5 separate regions of the Homo sapiens genome follow, and all the other regions are linked to region 1. The links are contacts of gene promoters, found by promoter capture Hi-C in blood cells and fetal thymus (Javierre and others, 2016). All regions are on one chromosome and are shown on one strand. The core of a region is centred on a gene start or on the middle of the fragment in contact, and the rest is flanking DNA. Distances in the headings are between cores, read along the strand shown. Region 1 holds the start of MEX3C (mex-3 RNA binding family member C). Region 2 overlaps C18orf32 (chromosome 18 open reading frame 32). Region 3 holds the start of ACAA2 (acetyl-CoA acyltransferase 2). Region 4 holds the start of DYM (dymeclin). Region 5 overlaps LINC02837 (long intergenic non-protein coding RNA 2837).

What was found. The method cuts DNA at HindIII sites, captures the fragments that hold promoters and counts their contacts. A CHiCAGO score of 5 or more calls a contact.
Region 2: a contact is called between a fragment that was not itself captured here and the fragment with the promoter of MEX3C in region 1, in 1 of 17 cell types (neutrophils). The highest score is 5.2, in neutrophils.
Region 3: a contact is called between the fragment with the promoter of ACAA2 here and the fragment with the promoter of MEX3C in region 1, in 3 of 17 cell types (activated CD4 T cells, monocytes and non-activated CD4 T cells). The highest score is 7.1, in activated CD4 T cells.
Region 4: the fragment with the promoter of DYM here is called in contact with the fragment with the promoter of MEX3C in region 1 in 1 of 17 cell types (neutrophils); the score reaches 6.5 in neutrophils.
Region 5: a contact is called between a fragment that was not itself captured here and the fragment with the promoter of MEX3C in region 1, in 1 of 17 cell types (neutrophils). The highest score is 6.7, in neutrophils.

What each region holds. Positions count from the first base shown.
Region 1 is chr18:51,196,369-51,199,068 of GRCh38, reverse strand. It overlaps MEX3C (mex-3 RNA binding family member C), which reads left to right and starts at 1,388. Exons shown (of 2, transcript NM_016626.5): 1 at 1,388-2,502. The coding sequence starts at 1,749. RefSeq lists an enhancer at 875-964 and silencers at 1,165-1,694, 1,715-1,824, 1,965-2,044, 2,305-2,354, 2,375-2,424. The HindIII fragment of the contact is 5,421 bases long and covers 1-2,700 here.
Region 2 is chr18:49,476,236-49,478,935 of GRCh38, reverse strand. C18orf32 (chromosome 18 open reading frame 32) reads left to right here. Exons shown (of 3, transcript NM_001035005.4): 3 at 1-1,693. Among named protein-coding and RNA genes, the nearest start is that of C18orf32, 9.6 kb to the left of the region's middle. The HindIII fragment of the contact is 2,342 bases long and covers 148-2,489 here.
Region 3 is chr18:49,812,275-49,814,974 of GRCh38, reverse strand. ACAA2 (acetyl-CoA acyltransferase 2) reads left to right here and starts at 1,442. Exons shown (of 10, transcript NM_006111.3): 1 at 1,442-1,506. The coding sequence starts at 1,491. It overlaps SNHG22 (small nucleolar RNA host gene 22), which reads right to left and starts at 952. Exons shown (of 4, transcript NR_117096.1): 1 at 913-952. It also overlaps SCARNA17. RefSeq lists silencers at 930-1,099, 1,342-1,636, 1,530-1,649. The HindIII fragment of the contact is 2,119 bases long and covers 72-2,190 here.
Region 4 is chr18:49,459,244-49,461,943 of GRCh38, reverse strand. It overlaps DYM (dymeclin), which reads left to right and starts at 1,299. Exons shown (of 18, transcript NM_001353214.3): 1 at 1,299-1,546. RefSeq lists a silencer at 1,321-1,900. The HindIII fragment of the contact is 8,649 bases long and covers 1-2,700 here.
Region 5 is chr18:49,500,894-49,503,593 of GRCh38, reverse strand. The region is part of intron 2 of LINC02837 (long intergenic non-protein coding RNA 2837); the gene reads right to left. Among named protein-coding and RNA genes, the nearest start is that of LINC02837, 2.9 kb to the right of the region's middle. The HindIII fragment of the contact is 902 bases long and covers 993-1,894 here.

The DNA of each region.
Region 1 (2,700 bases), core at 139-2,638:
GAGGAAACGGGGATTCATTTTCTTAAAAAGCACCAAAGAGCTGGGCGAGGTGGCTCACGCCTGTAATGCCAGCACTTTGGGAGGGCGAGGCGGGCGTATCACTTGAGGTCAGGAGTTCGAGACCAGCCTGGCCAACATGGTGAAACCCCGTCTCTACTAAAAATACAAAAGTTAGCTGGGCGTGGTGGCACGTGCCTGTAATCCCAGCTACTCGGGAGGCTGAGACAGGAGAAACTCTTTTTTTTTTTTTTTTTTTTTTGAGACGCAGTTTCGCTCTGTCGCCCAGGCTGGAGTGCAGTGGCATGATCTTGGCTCACTGCAACCTCCACCTCCCGGGTTCAAGCGATTCTCCTGCCTCCGCCTCCCGAGTAGTTGGGATTACAGGCGTGCGCCACCATGCCCGGCTAATTTCTGTATTTTTAGTAGAGACGGGGTTTCACCATGTTGATCAGGCTGGTCTCGAACTCCTGACCTGACCTCGTGATCCGCCCGCCTGAGCCTCTCAAAGTGCTGGCATTACAGGCGTGAGCCACTGCAAGGGGAAGCTCTTGAGCCCGGGAGGCGGAGGTTGCAGTGAGCCAAGATCGCACCACTGCACTCCAGCCTGGGCGACAGAGCTGGACTCCGTTTAAAAAAAAAAAACAAAAAACCCCGAAGAGCTAAACTTCAGCACCTCCAGGCTGCTGATGTAACCATCCTGCCGGCAGAGAAGCCGGGCCAGCGGGGCGTGGGAGGAGCATTCCCGAGTCCGAGAGGGAAGGCCCGGGAGCCACGCGGCTCAGGAAACCGCCCCCGCGAGGGGATAGGAGGATACTGCGTGGCCCCTCCTTCCGTGACTCTTCTTAAGGCCCTTCCTCTGAAGGGGGCGATCTCTTCCTCAACCCAAGGAAACAATGCTCTCGAACCTATGCCTGCAGCTCTGCTCCAGGCCGCTCACACAGTGCCTTCCCTAAAAGAACTCAGCCACATGGGCTACAGGGATGAAGGGTTGGGGGGAAACAAATCCAGGTGTGCGCTTCGACCGCACGCGCCTGCGCCAAAACCCCGCTTGGCCCTTAGTTTCAGCCTCTGCTGCAGCGCCTTCGTCCGCCTCCTTTTTCCCGCCCCCGCCGGGGACGTCACAAAGAGTGACGTGTAAAGTGAACAATCACAGTCCCTCTCCGCGCGTGCCGGGAGGAATGAGAGGGAGGTGGGCGGGGAGAGGACGGAAGGAGTAGGCTTCGGGAACTGGCTGGTCCCGGTCACCCAATCAGAGAGCTCTGGGGAGGGGAGGGGCGGGGCCCGAAGGAGGGTGGGGGGTGGGGCTGGGGAAAGGAGTTGGAAGGCTGCGGGAGGAGAAGGCGGGCTCCCAGAGATTAAAAGCACCCAATCAGAGCGCGCCGGCTTCATTCGGAGAGCGGCGTGGGGCGTAGCCGCCGCCGCCGCGCGCGCCGGGGGCTGGTTAAGGCCATGAAACAAAAGAAACACTGAGAGGGGAGCCGCTGCCACCTCCACCAGCCCGCCCCGCCGCCGTCCCCACCCACCCACCTAGTTACCTACCTCTGCCTCCTTCCCCTGCCCCTCCACCCCGCCCTCTCCGGTCTCCGGGCGGCCCTGGCGCTCCTCGGCCCGGGTCCCCAGCCCCGCCGCCTCCCCAGAGGAAAGGTGTTTGCGAGCTGAGCAGGGCCCTGGCCCTGTCCGCCATGGGGCTCGCCGCCTGCCGCGCCTGACCCGGCCGCCGCCGCCGCCATTGACAGCGCGCCGCCGCGATGCCCAGCGGCAGCTCCGCGGCCCTGGCCCTGGCGGCGGCCCCGGCCCCCCTGCCGCAGCCGCCCCCGCCGCCGCCGCCGCCACCGCCGCCTCTGCCGCCGCCCTCGGGCGGCCCGGAGCTCGAGGGGGACGGGCTCCTGCTGAGGGAGCGCTTGGCCGCGCTAGGCCTCGACGACCCCAGCCCGGCGGAGCCCGGCGCCCCGGCGCTTCGGGCCCCGGCAGCGGCGGCGCAGGGCCAGGCCCGGCGGGCGGCGGAGCTGTCTCCAGAGGAGCGGGCTCCGCCCGGCCGGCCCGGGGCCCCGGAGGCGGCCGAGCTGGAGCTGGAAGAGGACGAGGAGGAGGGGGAGGAAGCGGAGCTGGACGGAGACCTGCTGGAGGAGGAGGAGCTGGAGGAAGCAGAGGAGGAGGACCGGTCGTCGCTGCTGCTGCTGTCGCCGCCCGCGGCCACCGCCTCTCAGACCCAGCAGATCCCGGGCGGGTCCCTGGGGTCTGTGCTGCTGCCAGCCGCCAGGTTCGATGCCCGGGAGGCGGCGGCCGCGGCGGCGGCGGCGGGGGTGCTGTACGGAGGGGACGATGCCCAGGGCATGATGGCGGCGATGCTGTCCCACGCCTACGGCCCCGGCGGTTGTGGGGCGGCGGCGGCCGCCCTGAACGGGGAGCAGGCGGCCCTGCTCCGGAGAAAGAGCGTCAACACCACCGAGTGCGTCCCGGTGCCCAGCTCCGAGCACGTCGCCGAGATCGTCGGCCGCCAGGGTGAGTGCAGGGGTGGGGAGGTCCAGCTGGGCATGGCCCCGGGCGTGGGTGGGGAGACGAGAGAAAGGAGCGTGGGACGGAAAAGGCGAACCCGGCGAGGCCCCCAAGTCCACCGCGAAGGGGTCTGGGAGGAGCCGAGGGTCGACCAGATGTGAAGATGGGTCACCTTGCGAAAACCCACGCTTTTCCGCCCGTCTT
Region 2 (2,700 bases), core at 69-2,568, 1.7 Mb after region 1:
TTGACACCAGAAGAGTGAAAAAGAACATGGGAATAGTGGACAAAAATAGCCATCAGTTTGAATAAGCGTATGAAAAGTGTTAATTTTATGAAAAATTCACTATTTTGTTCATATTTTTCTTATTTTGGAGGCTAATTGTTAAAAGCTTTTATCAGTTATCCATGGGCTGGAGTTGGTAGCCACTGTTTGATACCACACAAATGTTTCTTTGCCCTAAAATATCAACATCTGTCTGTGTAAAGGTCAGGGCTGCCTTTTTAGTAAGAGCTACCCTTTGTTAAACACATTGTACCTGCACTGTTCATGGGTGTTTCACACACACAAACCTACCTGGTCTGCATAAACCTGAAATACAGTCAAGAAAACAGGATCCACCGGAGGCGGTGACTCAAGCCTATAATCCCAGCACTTTGGGAGGCCGAGGTGGGAGGATCACTTGAGGCCGGGAGTTCAAGACCAGCCTGGCCAACATGGTGAAACCCTGTCTCTACTAAAAATACAAAAATTAGTCGGGCATAGTGGTACACACCTGTAATCCCAGCTACTCCAGAGGCTGAGGCATGAGAATCGTTTGAAACCAGGAGGCAGAGGTTGCAGTGAGCTGAAATTGTACCACTGCACTCCAGCCTAGGTGACAGAGCAAGACTGTCTCAAAAGAAAAGAAAAAGAAAAACAGGATCCCAGCCTGGGCAACATAGGGAGACCTCGCCTCCACCAAAAATTAAAAAATTTAGCTAGGCATATGGTGATGTGCACCTGTGGTCCCAGCTACTCTGGAGGCTGAGGTGGGAGGATTGCTTGAACCCAGGAGGTTAAAGGCTACAGTGAGCTGTGATCAAGCCACTGCACTCTAGCTTGGACAACAGAGCAAGACCCTGTCTTAAAAAAAGAAAAAAAGAATAATGGAGTTTAAATATGTAAATGACAAGTCTAAGATTTCAAGGTCATACTTTCATGCTAAGGAGCCATCACAGCTACATATATATATAGTGTATATATATATATAGTGTGTATATATATATAGTGTATATACATATAGTGTATATATATATAGTGTATATATATAGTGTGTATATATATAGTGTGTGTATATATATATATGTGTATATATATATAGTGTGTGTATATATATATATTTTTGTTTGTTTGTTTGTTTTTGGAAGATGGAGTTTCGCTCTTGTTGCCCAGGCTGCAGTGCAATGGTGCAATCTCTGCTCACCACAACCTCCTCCTCCCAGGTTCAAGCGATTCTGCCTCAGCCTCCCAAGTAGCTGGGATTACAGGTGCGTGCTACCACACCCGGCTAATTTTGTACTTTAGTAGAGACGGGGTTTCACCACGTTGGTCAGGCTGGTCTCAAACTCCCAACCTCCAGTGATCTGCCTGCCTTGGCCTCCCAAAGTGCTGGGATCACAGGCATAAGCACTGGGCCCGGCTGCCACAGCTACTAATATCTTAATTGTTAGTAATACCTTATTGGGAATAATTAGGCAGAAATGGAGAGGGTGAGTTTAGATTAATCAGTATGTGTGAACTTGTTTTAAAGTTTCTGGAGGCTGAGGTGAGAGGATCGCTTAAGTCCAGGAGGCGGAAGTTGCAGTGAGCCAAGATCACACCACTGTACTCCAGCCAGGACAACAGAGCAATACCCCGTTTCAAATAAATAATAATAAAGTTAATTTTGCTAACCTTGTATCTTGAGTTTTTAATTTACCTACTTTTCAACAACTTATTTTTGCTTTATGAATTTTAACTGCATTTCCCGTCTCATTTTATGAGTTAGACTCATTTTCTCAGGTAATTACTTGAGGCTAAAACTTGGGTTTCATCACTTTTTTTTTTTTTTTTCCATTACTAGGCTGCCTTCTTAGGAAACATAGGTGACTCAGCACTTCCTTAAAGTGACCATTCAGAACTGGCATGTTGACAGAATGCCTGGATTAAAAAGAAACTCCAACCGCTGATCTTTTCATTTGTTATTATTTTTTAGAGACAGAGTCTCACTCTGTTGCCCAGGCTGGAGTGCAGTGGCGCAATCATAGCTCACTGCAGGCTCAAACTCCTGGGCTGAAGTGATCTTCTTGTCTCAGCCTCCCGAGTAGCTGGGACTACAGGCATGAACCACTGCGCCTGGCGCAGAGACTGATCTTAAGTCTAGTTCAGTCGTAATCAAAGAGGAAATGGAAGTTTTCTTATGGTTTCCTCCACAGGGAGCTACTTGCTTGTTCTAACCTCAAAGCTAAATTTATTGACATGGCGACAGCTCCTTAATAAAGAAGCAAAGACTATGGGTTCTTTGGTTTGAATGTCCGCTCCAAAACTCATGTTGAAATTTAATCCCCAATGTGGCAGTAGTGAGAGGTAGGGCCTTTAAAAGGTAATTGGGTCATGAGGGCCCTGCCCTCATGAATAGATTCATTCACTCATGGATTAATGGATTAGTGGGTTAATAGATTTAACGGGTTATCATAGGAGTAGAACTGGAAGCTTTTATAAGAAGAGGAAAAGGCGCCGGGCACGGTGGCTCACGCCTGTAATCTCAGCACTTTGGGAGGCCGAGGCAGGCGGATTGTCTGAGCTCAGGAGTTCAAGACCAGCCTGGGCAACACGGTGAAACCCCGTCTCTACTAAAATACAAAAAAAAAATCAGCCAGGTGTGGTGGCATGCACCTGTACTGCCAGCTACTCGGGAGGCGGAGG
Region 3 (2,700 bases), core at 193-2,692, 1.4 Mb after region 1:
GGCCTCCCAAAGTGCTGGGATTACAGGCGTGAGCCACGGCGCCCGGCCTATACATGAGCATTTGTGAAGCTTGTCTAAGATTTGTACATTTGATTGCGTGGATATTTTGCCTTAAAAAGAACTGTAAATGAATAATGTGTGCTGATGTGTTCATGGGTGTAGAGTACTAAGGTCTGCATTAAAAAGATAAGATGGTTTGATGGAAGAACAGGTGGATAGCAATATAGCAAAATGTTAACAATTGGGTCGATATGTGTCCACTGTACAAGTCTTCCCACTTTTCTGTAAGTTTGTAAGTTTTCATAATACAAATTTGGATTTAAAAACACCCCAACATTGCAAGAGTGTCACCAAAGTGTTTGAAAAGCAGGATTCTAGGGGGGGCATTCGCTGACGACTCAGAGAAACCGTCCATGCCACCCACCACCCCTACGCACTCAAAAGAAGCCCTCGCTAGGCAGCCCGGCCCTCCGAGCCCTGGTATCGAGGGGCTCTCCGCCTCTCCCCTGCCGCGGCCGCCTCCTGCTTGCCCGGCCTCAGTCTGTTCTCAGAACATACTCCATCACCTGGTTCCCAGAACTCAGATTGCGCAGTGGTCTCGTCATCATCGGCCAGGACTCACAGTGCCCGCGGCAGAGGCCTCCCTAGACCTCCCTCCCGTCCAGCCTCACCCGCTGCCTACTCTCCTCACGCCCCTGCTCCAGGTCCCCTGGCCCCATTTCGCTCGCCACGTTTTCATAATCCTCTCAGGCTCCGGGCAAGCGGCGCCGCCCGCAATGGGACCTGATCATATAAGGAAAATACTGCGGGCTCATCCGGGGGCTGCAATGGGGACCCGAAAGCGCCCTAGCCTACTACAATCACCGCACCCCAACTGCCGCCCACCTCTCTGCCCTGCCCCCAGTACAGTACCCAAAACCGGTCCGGGTCCAGCTCGGCGGCCCAAGCCTCTGCCCAGCGGACTGCGCACCCGCCCGCCCCAGCCAATCCCGCCGCCGCCGCCGCGCCCCGCCCACAGGACGTTCGGTCCCGCCCCCAGCTGGCGGCCGCGGCCGCCCGCGCGCCAAGTTCCTCAGCCCTTGGCTCCTGCCCAGTGTTTAGGGTGTTGGCGGAGACAAAGGGGAAGAGTCATCGCCTGTCGGGGCTAGGATATGATGGGTGAGAGGTGTCAAACCAAATTCTCTCGGTTTGGAAACGGAGAAAATCTAAAAATGAGGATGTGAGGAAAGAGTCCGCTCTCAAGGCGCGTTGTGGTCTATCCGAGCCCCGTCCCCTGGGCTCCCTCGGGCTGGGGTGAGGCGGGCAGCGCTACGCGTGGGGTAGGACCATCTTACGCTGGGACCCCGCCAAGGAGCCCCAGGAAGTAGGTGAAAGGGCAGGGGCGTGGCTCTCGGGGCGCCACCCACGCTCTTGAAATCTGGGTGATTGCGAGCGGCCGCTCAGCGTCCCCCACACCACAGACCCGCGCCGCCGACGACCCAGCAGCCGCCATGGCTCTGCTCCGAGGTGAGCGCAGCCCCCTCCTCCTCTCCTCGCCCCTCGGGGTCCTGCCCTCCCCAGGCCAGGCCTCCGCTTCCGGCCGCCGCGGAGAGTCGGGGTCGTGGGGTGAAGTTCACTCAACCTCCTCGGTTTTGGAGCGGACGTGATAAAAACCCAGCCCGAAAGGCTTGTTTGGGTTAAGGAGAAAACCCTTACTTGTAAGGCGCTAGCGACAGCGATTTCGGTGCAATTTCCTGTTTAGTTGAGACCAAAGTTTGCTTGCATGTGACCTTGGAGGTCATTCCTTTCTTCGCCTAACAGTGACCCCACTAGTTCGAGTCCAAGTATTAGAAAAAATGGGGCGGCGCCATAGGCCGCGGGCGCCTGCTGCGGGGCAGCTGCGCACAGGAGCCCGCCGCTCGGCCTCGGTGGTCAGGGCTCCCCGGGTGAATCGATGGAGAGGCCTGCAGAAATGGTAGCTGGTGTTCTGCTGGAAGACCTGCCCTGCTCCCATTTCCCTTCTGTTGCTTTAGATTAGAGCGGTCACTCTATACCTAAGTTCTAGGGTTATGAACTTGTTTAAAACAACTGTGTAATAAACTCCCTTTTCAAAACAAGTGGGCACAGTCAATGGAATCTTACTTTAAGGATGTACGAGTCGAAGAACATTGAGGTGGAATACATATCGAGGCCCTGAGACAGGAAAAAGCTTGGCAGGATCTAAGAACCAAGCATTTTGGTGCTCCAGGGCCCTGTGGGCTCTGTAAGAAGGTGGGGTTTTGTTCCAAATTCAGTGGAAGGCAATACAGGGATTTAAAGCGGGGTAATGACAGGATCTGATTTCCACTCTGTCCGAATTTGGGGCGGTCTGTGTAATGGCGAAGAGACCATTTAAGGATCTATTGTAGAGGTCCAGGGAGCAGCAAATGATGGCTTTGACTCGTGTGGGGCAGTGTAATTGGGGAGAAAAGGGGAGGGATGAGTTGAGATAGATTTGGAGGTGGATTTGATAGAAAGTGGATTGGATGTGGTGGAGTAAATATAAGAAGGAAATGTCGAGAATGATGAAAAGTGTCTGGTTTGATGAACCGTGTTCATGATGATGCCACTTTACAGAGTGAGGAAAATTGGGAAAGGAATAGATGTGGAAAGAAGGATTGAGAATTCAGTTTTAGGCAGAAAACTTTTTGGTGCCTGTGAAGCAGCCAAGTGGAGATGCCA
Region 4 (2,700 bases), core at 50-2,549, 1.7 Mb after region 1:
GTTGAGACAGTGTATCGCTATGTTGCTCAGGCTGGTCCTTCCGAACTCCTGGGCTCAAGTGATCCTCCCACCTTAGCCTCCCAAAGTATTGGGATTACAGGCATAAGCCACAGGGCCCAGTCTACTTTGGGTTTTAATATGTTTTCCTGTCATAATTCTGCAAGCTCAGTGAATTTACTGGCAGTCTATGCTAGAAAAGAATACCTAATATTTGTATAGTACTTTACAGAGTACACTGGCACATATTGACTATATAATGGGAATAACGGTGCTATCTGTTCCATAGGGTCATTTTGCGAAATAATAGTGCATGGCAAATAGAAAATAATCCATAATGTGAATTGTTATTACTACAGTCATGTCAACATTTCCTGTAATGGCAGAATCATCATCATGCATATATTTTAGGTGAGGAAACTGGCTGAGAGAGGTGAAGTAATTGCTCAAAGACGTCAGTGTGGAAACCTCAGCTCATTTGACTTCAAATTCCATAGTTTTGGCACTATCTCATATTGCTACTCTTTCCCGTGGGACCTGTCCTTTCCGACAACTTTGCAGGCAGGGCTAGCCCTGCCAGCTGCCTCCATCAAAAATTATTTTGCTATTTCTCAATTCTCCAGAATCCCACACAATATTGCTTGACTTTGGGATGGTTATTCAGCTGCAATTAACAGAGGCCTTAATAAGGTTAAGCCGCCAGAACGAGCGGTGTAGCATGAGCGAGGACTCTAGCACCTGGCAGGTGAGGTTGACTCTAGCACCCGGCAGGTGAGGTTTTTGCGCTTCTCTCTCTCTCTCTTTTTTTTTTTTTGAGAAGAGTCGAGCTCTGTCGCAAGGCTGGAGTGCAGTGGCCCGATCTCGACTCACTGCAATCTCCGCCTCTCGGGTTCAAACGATTCTCCTGCCTCAGACAGCTACTTTTTGACTCACTGCAATCTCCGCCTCTCGGGTTCAAACGATTATCCTGTCTCAAACAGCTACTTTTTGTATTTTTAGTGGAGACGGGGTTTCACCATGCTGGCCAGGATGGTCTCGATCTCCTGACCTCGTGATCCGTCCACCTCGGCCTCCTAAAGTGCTGGGATTACAGGCGTGAGCCACCGCGCACGGCTGTTTTTGCGCTTCTCGATTTCGCCACGTGGCTTTGCGGTAGCCCAGGAGGTACTAGGAGGGCGGAGGCACGAATAACACCCAAAGGACTACAGTTTCCAGAAGCCCGCGCGCGCCGCGTGCCACGTGACCACCTGGCTGGCGCGCGCGCCTGGGGGTCTGGTCCCTAGCCGCGTTCTCGGTCGCTTCCCTCTTCTCTCGCCGCCTCCTGGCCTCCGCACCGACGCGGCCCGGGCTGGAGCCGAGCCGGGGCCGAGCTGCAGGCCGGACCGGAGCCGGATCTGTACCCGCTGAGACGTGGAAACATGGAGGCCTGAGCCGGTGTGCGCCACCTGGGCTGCGGCGGCGACAGCGACTTCTCCTGACCCCTCTGCCACCCTCCCATCCGTCCGCGGGTCCGTGGAGCTGGAGCAGATCCCCCAGCCGGCTGAGACAGGTGGGCTGTAGCGCCGCCCCCCTCAGCGCGGCCGGGCCCGAAAGCCTGGCTGTCCCCGGCCTCCTGTCAGAGGGGGTCAGGGGCCACCCTCCGCAACCCGGCCAGCGCCCCGGGGCGGCGGCGAAGGGACCCTCCCTTCCCTGCCCGCGGGCGCCTGGGCCACCCGGAGGGGCTGTGCTGACAGCGGACGGACCTCTGTCCGAGTCCGCTGTTGGGAGTTGGGGGATACCGAAGGCCAAGTCGGTGCTTCCGGAGATGGGGCGGTGTTGGTCTGACAAATGGGCGTGTGATGGGCAGGGTGAGCAATAGCTGTTGGGTTTTTCTTTCTTCTTTTTACATTCATAGTTTATCGAGGTATAACTAACATATCAGAAAATTAACCCTTTAAAAGTACAACTCAGTGGTTTTTAGTATATTCACAGGGTTGAGCAGCCATCACCACCCTTAACTCCAGAGCATTTTTAATCACCGCCCCCCCCGCCCCAAAGAAGCTCGTACCCATTAGCAGTCACTCCTCCTTCTCTCCCCTACACTATTGATCTACTTTCAGTCGCCGTGGATTTGCCTGAGCAATTGTGTTTTGACTGAAAAGTGAAAGGGTGGGTGTTTGTGAACTGGGGGCAGTAGTGGGGTTTGAGGGTATTGGTGTGGTAAAGCTGATTGGATAAAGCTGTTCTCTACTGAACAGGGGTAGAGAAGTGATGGGATGATTGTAATCGGCCAGCAAAGCGGGTACCCAGGATAGACTGATTAGGGGGCACAGATGGAGTGAGTTCCTTGAAAGAGGAGAGGGGAAGTTGGAGAGAGGGGTGTGTAGAGCAAGGGTGATGTGCTGAAGGATGAAAACCTGGAGGGTGGAGGCCGTGGAGAGGAATGTAGCGTCCACCAGAGGAACTCAGGTGCTTAGGCTGATGAGTTGAGGGCTCAAGAGAAGAACGAGGTGGAAGGGAAGAGAATCTATAGGAATGGGTGAATGGTTGTTGCAGAGGATGAAATTTATGAATATATGGATTTCTGGAGTGATTATCCTGCTTTGAAGTTTTATTTTAGATAATCCTCTCAGCAACTTGGAGATAGACCGGACAAGTATGAATATTCCCATTCTGTAAATGAAGAACTAGTCTTTTAGAGGTTAGGTGTCTGCCTTAAGCTCA
Region 5 (2,700 bases), core at 194-2,693, 1.7 Mb after region 1:
TATTATAGTAAATGTTAAATTTTCTGATTCTAAAACTGATTATGAAAGAGAACAACCTGGCCAGGCACGGTGGCTCATGCCTGTAATCCCAACACTTTGGAAAGCCGAGACGGGCAGATCACCTGAGGTCAGGAGTTCAAGACCAACCTGGCCAACATAGTGAAACCCAGTCTGTACTAAAAATACAAAAATTAGCCAGGCGTGATGGTGGGCGACTGTAATCCCAGCTACTCAGGAGGCTGAGGCAGGAGAATCACTTGAACCCCGGAGGCAGAGGTTGCAGTGAGCCGAGATCGCGCCAATACACTCTAGCTTGGGTGACAGCAAGCCTCTGTCTCAAAAATAAAATAAAAAGAAACAACAACCAGATGTCATGTGGGACCTAGATTGGGTCTTGCTTTGTTTCTGGTTTTTTTGTGTGTGTGTGGCTGCTTTGGTTGGTTGGTTTGTTTGTTTGTTTGTTTGTTTGAGACAGAGCCTTGCTCTGTCACCCAGGCTGGAGTGTAGTGACATGATCTCAACTCACTGCAACCTCTGTCTCCCAGCTTCAAGCAATTCACATGCCTCAGCCTCCAGAGTAGCTGGGACTACAGGTGTGTGCCACCACACCCTGCTAATTTTTTCTATTTTTAGTAGAGACAGGGATTCACCATGTTGGCCAAGCTGGTTTCGAACTCCTGGCCTCAAGTGATCTGCCTGCCTCAGCTTCCCAAAGTGCTGGGATTACAGGTGTGAGTCAGTGTGCCTGGCGGGTCTTGCTTTGAACAAACCAACTGGAAAGGACATTTGGGGAACAACTGGGATAACTGAAATTGAGGTTAGGTATTAGAAGAGATGAAAATGTATCAACATGGTAAAATTGAGATTAACTGGAAAAAAATCTGATTATGAAATAGCATGTACAGTATAATTTCACCTGGTAAGTATATATGTATATACATACACACATGAAGTATATATCTCACACTATACTAGAAGGATATATTAAAGCTTAATCTTTTGGAAATATAAGGATTTTATTTTCTTAATCTGCTTACCTGCTATATCTGACTTTCTATAAAACACATATAAATAATCTTAAATTTTTGAATAATTTTAAAATTTTACTTATTATTTATTTATTTATTGAGATGGAGTCACTCTGTCACCCAGGCTGGAGTGCAATGGTGCGATCTTGGCTCACTGCAACATCTGCCTCCCGGGTTCAAGAGATTCTCCTGCCTCAGCCTCCCGAGTACCTGGGATTACAGGCACGCACCACCATGCCCGGCTAATTTTTTCTTTTCTTTTCTTTTTTCTTTTTCTTTTTTTTTTTTGAGACAGAGACTCGCTCTGTCACCCAGACTGGAGTGCAGTGGTGCGATCTCGGCTCACTGCAACCTCCGCCTCCCAGGTTCAAGCCATGCTCCTGCCTCAGCCTCCCAAGTAGCTGGGACTACAGGCGTGTGCCACCATGCCCGGCTAATTTTTTGTATTTTTAGTAGAGAGAGATGGGGTTTCACCGTGTTAGCCAAGATAATCTCCATCTCCTGACCTCGTGATCCACCTGCCTTGGCCTCCCAAAGTGCTGGGATTACAGGCGTAAGGCATCTTGCCTGGCAACTTTTTCTATTTTTAGTAAAGACAGGGTTTCACCATGTTGGCCGGGCTGATCTTAACTCCTGGCCTCAAGTGATCTGCCACCCCGGCCTCCCAAAGTGCTGGGGATACAAGCGTGAGCCACCGCACCTGGCCAATTTTAAATTTTTTAATAAATAAATTGCTCTGGCTGTTCTAGATGGATTACAGGGGCAATCAAGAGTGGAAGTAGGTTGTCTAGTTGATCAGCAATATGCTTTTCAGTATCTGTTTCCCAAGTCTAGGTGGAAGCCAGATTCTTGCTGGAAATGAAGCTTCTCCTTCATGGGAATCCCACATACATGGCCAAAGAGATCTTACGTCTGGGAGCACAAACTGGGTATGTTAAAGGGCTTGATATTCTCCAGGGTATTTTGTTGTCCAACAAAGCTGGGTAGAGATTTGCACAGGTCCACGGAGCTGCTCAGCAAAGGGAGGGTCTGGAGGAGTGCTATCCAGCAGACTAAAGGCAAGGCACCAGCCCTCTTTGAAGTTATACACTGGTCCAGCCAGGGAAATCACAAGCACACACACATACCCAACATCAGTTAATGACAAGATAAGAAAGAAAATGTACTTTTAAATTTGATCTTAAAACAATTCACAACTCTTAAAAATTATGCAGAATAAGCCAGGCGTGGTGGCTCACGCCTGTAATCCCAGCACTTTGGGAGGCTGAGGCAGGTGGATCACAAGGTCAGGAGTTCGAGACCAGCCTGGCCAATATGATGAAACCTCGTCTCTACTAAAAATACAAAACTTAGCTGGGCGTGGTAGCACGTGCCTGTAGTCCCAGCTGCTCAGGAGACTGAGGAAGGAGAATTGCTTGAACCCAGGAGGCAGAGGTTGCAGTGAGCTGAGATGGCGCCACTGCACTCCAGCCTGGGCAACACAGCGAGACTCTGTCTCAAAAAATAAATACATAAACAAATAATAAATAAAATTATGCAGAATAAGTAGAGCTATAGTAATAAAAAGCAAACTTTGCAGCTTCAGGAATTAAAGTGTCTCACAAATGGAATGAAATCCCTTAGGAAAGCCTAGTGAAGAAAAATGTCAGCTATTACCCTAACTCTGGGAGGT